Linked DNA regions of Homo sapiens: region 1 is linked to region 2. Evidence: promoter capture Hi-C in human tissues and cell types (Jung and others, 2019). All regions are on one chromosome and are shown on one strand. The core of a region is centred on a gene start or on the middle of the fragment in contact, and the rest is flanking DNA. Distances in the headings are between cores, read along the strand shown. Region 1 holds the start of TPM4 (tropomyosin 4). Region 2 holds the start of PRKACA (protein kinase cAMP-activated catalytic subunit alpha).

What was found. The method cuts DNA at HindIII sites, captures the fragments that hold promoters and counts their contacts. A contact is called where the count stands out against the background at its distance.
Region 1: the fragment with the promoter of TPM4 here is called in contact with the fragment with the promoter of PRKACA in region 2 in 1 of the 25 tissues and cell types used here (lymphoblastoid cells).

Annotation. Positions count from the first base shown.
Region 1 is chr19:16,075,127-16,078,284 of GRCh38, reverse strand. TPM4 (tropomyosin 4) reads right to left here and starts at 1,790. Exons shown (of 8, transcript NM_003290.3): 1 at 1,588-1,790. The coding sequence starts at 1,719. RefSeq lists enhancers at 719-1,448, 1,449-2,176, 2,177-2,906 and a silencer at 1,231-2,140. The HindIII fragment of the contact is 17,695 bases long and covers 1-3,158 here.
Region 2 is chr19:14,116,343-14,119,342 of GRCh38, reverse strand. It overlaps PRKACA (protein kinase cAMP-activated catalytic subunit alpha), which reads left to right and starts at 1,581. Exons shown (of 10, transcript NM_002730.4): 1 at 1,581-1,841. The coding sequence starts at 1,796. LOC124904642 (a long non-coding RNA gene) reads right to left here and starts at 1,129. Exons shown (of 2, transcript XR_007067144.1): 1 at 152-1,129; 2 at 1-34. RefSeq lists silencers at 961-1,520, 1,931-2,000. The HindIII fragment of the contact is 9,947 bases long and covers 1-2,966 here.

The sequences.
Region 1 (3,158 bases), core at 541-3,040, 2.0 Mb before region 2:
GCCTCTGAGTCTGTGCACACCCATGTCTCTGGTCCCAGCAAACTTATTTATTCTATAAGACCCAGCTCAACCTCCATTTTGGAGCCTCCCCTGTCATGCTCCCATAACTGCACAGAAAACCCGTGGAATGCAGACCTCGCTCCATCAGTGAGTCAGCTCCCCTGCCTCCATTTGTCTATGAGCTCTTCCCAGGGCAGAGAAAACACAATTGAGGCTGGGCGCCGTGGCTCACGCTTGTAATCCCAGAACTTTGGGAGGCCAAGGTGGGCAGATCACGAGGTCAGGAGTTCGAGACCAGCCTGGCCAGCATGGTGAGACACTGTCTCTACTAAAAATCCAAAATAAAAAAAAAAAAATTAGCTGGGCGTGGTGGCGGGCACCTGTAATCCCAGCTACTCGGGAGGCTGAAGCAGGAGAATCTCTTGAACTCGGGGGGTGGAGGTTGCAGCGAGCCGAGATCGCACCACTGCACTCCAGCCTGGGCGACAGAGTGAGACTGCCTCAAAAACAAAACAACAAAAAACAACAACACAATTGATTATTTACAAAGCGCCAGGCTCCACGCCTGAGATTTACTCCTGGGACCCTCCCTGCTACTCTGGGGGGTCGGGATTCTTATCAGTCCTACTCGCAGATGGGAAAAAAGCTCCTAGAGAGCAAATACCAAGTCATGAAGCCTGTGGGTGGCATGATATGGGACCAGAATCCAAATCTGTCCCCAGACCCTGGCGGTGCCACCATCTGTCCCGAGGGACAGCCAGGAGGATGATGCAGAGAGGATGGTGAAACTCCCTCCTTTTTCAGACCCATTGTTTATCTCGGGCCCTGCGACTCGCGGCGGAGGCGCACAGCAGGCGCTCAAACGATCGTGGGTTCAGGGCCCCGCGCCAGCGTTCCCGGGGCCTTCTGGAGAGAGGCAGGGTCCCGCCGCCCCGGTTCCCGCAGGAATCAGCTGGAGAAAGGCGGGCGGCTTGGGGCTGAACTTCCTCCACCCCCCATCCCCCCCGCCGCCTGGAGCAGACACGTCGCCGCCGCGCCCCTGGGAACGGTCAGGGAAGCAAGCAGAAGCCGGGAAGCCGCGAAAGAGGCGAGAAAGTGCGACCCCCTCCCCAGATCCCCGGTCCCCCGTCGAAATCCCTGTCGGCCGGTCAAACCCTAGACAATGGAAGCTCCACGTTTTCATCCTCATTCTCCCCCACAAGTCCGGTCGCGGGTTCCCCTCGGCCCGGGACCCCGGCGCCAGCCCCGGAGTCGGAGCCTGCACGATACGCCCCCTCCCGCCGCTCCACTTCTCCACCCGGAGATCGCTCACCCCCTCCGCCCCATCCCCCCATTTCCCGCTTGGCCGGCCCCGCCCGACCCGGAGGCGGCGCCCCCTCCCCTGTCCCAGGCCCAGGAAGGAGGACGGCGGAGGAAGTAGGGGGTCCTGGCTGCGGGCGCAGGGATGTGGGTCGGCGATCGGCGTCCGAGGGCGTAAAAAGGCGGCCCGAGGACTGCGCGCGGGCGGGCAGCGCGGGAAGCCGGGAAGAAAGGAGGGCGCGCGGGGGAGGAGGCTGCGGGTGCGGGGCCCGAGGCCGGGGCGCTCACTTTCTCGCGCCGCTCGCGCTCGCCGTCCAGCTCCCGCTGCAGGCCCTGCGCGCGGTCTTCCGCCTCGTCCGCCTGCTGCTGCAGGGCCTGGATCTTGCGTTTCACCGCCTCCAGGGAGTTGAGGCCGGCCATGGCGCGGAGGCGCAGAGGCGCACGGGCAGCGGCGGACGCTCGGCTGGGCTCGGCTCCGGCGAGAGCTGCACAGCCGCGCCCCGGCCCCCCAAGCCTTTGCCTGCGCGGGGGCCGCCCCCGCCTCTCCCCGCCCCCCGGGCCGGCTGCCGTCGGGGCGATGAGGTCACCCGGCCGGACCGCCGACGTCAGCACCGCTGGGGGAGGGCCTGACGTCGGCACCGCTGGCCACAGCTGCTGGAAAGTGCCCCTTTTCGGGACTTATTTGGAGAAAGCGCTGGGAGGCGCCGCCTTCTCCTCCTCCTCTTCCTCCTCCCCCTGCGGCTCTCCCCGCCTTCCCGGCCCCGGGGCTCCGGCCTGGCCCCGCCGCGGGCTCCCGCATCCCTGCACACGTACGTCGGAGGCCTTCTTCTCCGTGAGCTCCAGCTTCTCCTGCGCGTCCTTCAGGTCCTCGGAATATTTATCCAGCTCGTCCTCTGTCCCTTTTAGTTTCTTCTGGAGGTGCGTCAGCTCCTCCTCCACCTGGGGACGACAGAGCGAGGAACGGGTCAGCCTGGGGGGGGGGTCACGTCCCCGAGGTGCAGGGGCGGTCCCCCCCAATATTCACAAGAGTCCTCCGTCTCTCTCTGGGCATCAGTTTCCTTATCTGTAGAACAGGGGTTGCGATAGCATGCACCACGCCATCCATGCTACCTGATAGTGGGATTTTCACATCTTTCCCTCGTCCTGAGGACCAGCTGTTTTGGGCTTATTGGGGTCCCCAGTACTCTAGGGAGATCAATGGCAGCTTTTGGGAAACTGAAGACTCCAAATGTTTTCCAGAAATACACACATTCCAGTTTCAGAGGTGCAGCCTCACCATGATCTGGAGTTAAGCAATCTCATTCTCTGCGCGTGGATCCCTCCGCCCATCCCTGTCCCCAGCCTTTCTCCCTCTGGTTCTGACCCCAACACGGGGTCAGAGAAACTTTCTAACAAATACGCCTGCCCTCTTTCTGCCTAGAACCTGCTATGGCTCCCTATGGCCCAAGGCAGTGGTTCTTAGACTGTCTTACCAAAATACTCTGAAGGGCTGAAGGGCTCAGACCTAGTCCCTCATTTCTGGGCTTTGGGGAGCTTGGCTAGAAGAGACTCGCCCCTACAGGATCACTTTCTTTGAAGGCTCGGGTTAAATCTTTAAAATTTTTGCATATAGGCCATGTTCATTTTAATAAAAATGTCCCCTACTTTCCCTAAATTTTCAGTCCTCTGTTTATCCCAAGAGTCCTATCCTCCCATCACTCCTAGTTTGAGAAGCTCAGGCCTATGGATTACAAACCACAGACCCCATCACCTCTCTTTGTCACCCCCCACCACACCGGTCTAGAGTTGGCTCAAGAAGACTTTTCTGTCACCTCCAGGCTGAAACTCCCTCCCTGGGCCCCCAACTCTGGATTAGGGTG
Region 2 (3,000 bases), core at 332-2,831:
GGGTTTTTCTTTGTCAAAACTTAAACCAGCTGTCCTGCAGATAGATTATAATGAGTGATTTTTCAGACTTTGCCCTTGACCCACAGGAAATTAACATCGTGATCCCAACACACAAACAGCAATGCTTTTATTAAATTTTACTAAACCTTACCATGTATCTATCCATCCAGAGGCGGAGTGGTCAGCCATTTCCCCATAGTTCACAGAAAGGCTCTGACTCTCCCTCCCTGGAACTGTGGTTGATCTGGGAACATGGGGGCAGACAGCAGCTGGAGAAGGTGGAGGCTATTCAAGTCGAAGCAGCAGATCGGCTTGTAGTTAAGCCCAGCTAGCCCTTCCGAGTCGGGGTGACCTGGCTTCTCCCCTCCCCTGACCCTCTCTTAAGTGCTTCTCAATCAGGAGCAGTTCGGCCCCGCAAGAGCACATTCACCAATGTCAGGAGACAGCGGTTGCCACAGCCAGCAGGAAGATAGAGGAGGGGCTACTGGCATCCAGTGGGTAGAGGCGGGGGATGTTGCTCAACACCCAGTGGTGCACAAGACACCCCCCAGCAGAAAATGATCCAGCCTCACCGTCAGTAGTGTCGCAGTTGGGAAACCCCGACTGTCCTCTGCTAAGTGTGTACTGAAAGAGGATCCTGAAGGAAGGGGCAGGTTCCCTTCGCATTGCCCAGACAGGAAATACAGACGGGGAACAGGAGCAGGGAATCTGCCTGGCTGTACCCCAGATTCCTCATCTGTGCAATGGGAGTGATGATGGTAGCACCTACGCGATGGGAGTGTGGTGCGAAGGAGCGTTAAGTGGGTGCCAGCTCTTACTACTGGCAGGAGCCCAGGGCTAGGGCCCAGCAAAGGGGTGGACACTGAGCGCCCCTTCCCAGCCACCCCTTGCGCCGGGCCCGGCATCCTCCTGAGTGCGGCTGGGAAAACCCAGGAGGCCCCGCGGCCTGGCCCCCAAGCAGGCCTGGCCTCGGCCGCCCAGCGCCAGGCCTTATGAATGACGCCGGCGGCGGCCGGGCGACCTCTGACCCGCGCGCCGGCCGCGCCCCTCCCCCGCTGGCAGGTGGACAGCGGCTGCGCCGGGCAGGCCGCGGCGCCAACTCCGGCTGGCCGACAGCCGCTGCCGCACTGAGCGGGGGCGGGGGACTGCGGCGCGCGCGGGGCCGGCCGGGCGCCCGCCGGGGCCGCCTCCTGAGCCTCGGAGCGCTGCGCGGCCGCCAGCCAGCCTCCGCCGCCCCGCCCCGCCGGCCCGGGCCCGCAGACTGCGTCTCCGCCCCGCCCTCTCACCCCCGGATTGACACTGAGCGTTCTGCTGGGGGGCTTGGCGGACCCGGCACCTCCGCCAATCGGCGGCCTCGCAGGGCGGACCCCGGGCCCAGTCCAGCGTCTCGGCCAATCGGACGCGTCTGCCCGCCCAGCTGCGGCCTCGCGAGCGAGTGAATGGCCGAGAGTCCGCGGTGCGTGTCCCGAGGCTGAGAGCCTATAGTGGCGCGGGAAGGTCGCGGGAGGGCCAATGGGAGGCGGCGCTGAGCCGTCAGTCAGGGCGGCCTAGGCCAATGAGCGGCGGGCTGCGGGGGCGTCACAGACAGCGGCAGAGATCTTGGGCTGAGGTTCCCGGGCGGGCGGGCGCGGAGAGACGCGGGAAGCAGGGGCTGGGCGGGGGTCGCGGCGCCGCAGCTAGCGCAGCCAGCCCGAGGGCCGCCGCCGCCGCCGCCCAGCGCGCTCCGGGGCCGCCGGCCGCAGCCAGCACCCGCCGCGCCGCAGCTCCGGGACCGGCCCCGGCCGCCGCCGCCGCGATGGGCAACGCCGCCGCCGCCAAGAAGGGCAGCGAGCAGGAGAGCGGTGAGTGCCCGGGCTGTGACCCCGATCTTGGCCCTGCGCTGCCAGCCCTGGCCTTGTCCATCATCGCCTGGCCCCTCCCCCTACGGGGCCCCTCATCCTCTCTGCCTACCCCCCAGCGCCCCTTGCCCCGGCCTGTCCAAGGCTGGGGCCCGCGGGCCCGCAGAGTACCCCCTGTAGGGGTCCCCTTCCCCTAGGGCCGCCCCATGCTGCAAAGACCGTGCTCCCCCCCAGCTGTCACTGCCAACCATGGCACGTATGACCGCTGGGGCCCCACATGGGCCCCTGTCACCAGCCTACCCCCTCCTTTCCTGGCCCCTCTTCCCAGATTCTAATCCCCCCACTTCCTCACTCACCTCTCTCACCTATGGGATCCTCTGCCTGACCCCGACCCAGGTTTCTACCAGTTTGGGAATGCGATGAGGTCTGTCTGCCTCCACCGCGCAGGGACCTTGGCCACTTGCTGACCACACCCCTCCCCCCTCCAGCCCCCGCCATCTTTCTCCTGCCCTTTCCCTCTTCACCTTAGCACAGCCCCCCCTTCCAAACCCATCCTGCCCCCTGAACATTTCCCAGAGCCACCTCCAGCATTATTTTTTTCTTCTGTGTCACTTGGCATGGGGGACAGGATCTTTCTGGGTCCCTCTGCCTCTCTCATCCTGTCACTCTGTCATTCTGCTGCTCTGCTTGTGCTCCGTCCTCCAAGCAAGCGTCTGTCCCTGGCTGGGGTAGCAGACTGTTTATGAACGTAGAGAATTGCTTCAGTGCTTCCAAAGCCAAGTTTGAGCTGGTCTTGTTGGGATTCATTGCATCCTCTTTCCTGCGTTGGGGTAAGGGGGTGGTGGCAGAGCCCCCTCTCATTTCCTGTCTTGCAGTGAGCTCTAGGCTCCATGGAGGGCCCCTCAATAAATGGTCGTTTCACAACTGAGGCTCCGTCATTCACCCAGTCCCTGGGGCTTCTTCCACCACTCCTGGCTTGGGATGAAAAGTGTCTGGGTTTAGCGAGGTTCATTCGGTTCTAACTGAGATGGTCAGAAAGAGCACTGGGGAGGAGGAGGCAGTCAAAGAGAGTAATGGGTGACGTCTAGTGATTTGCTTTGACGTCTAGTGATTCTGATCATTCCCAGGGCTCAGCCAGAGAGAGACCTGTTTCACCCACTTG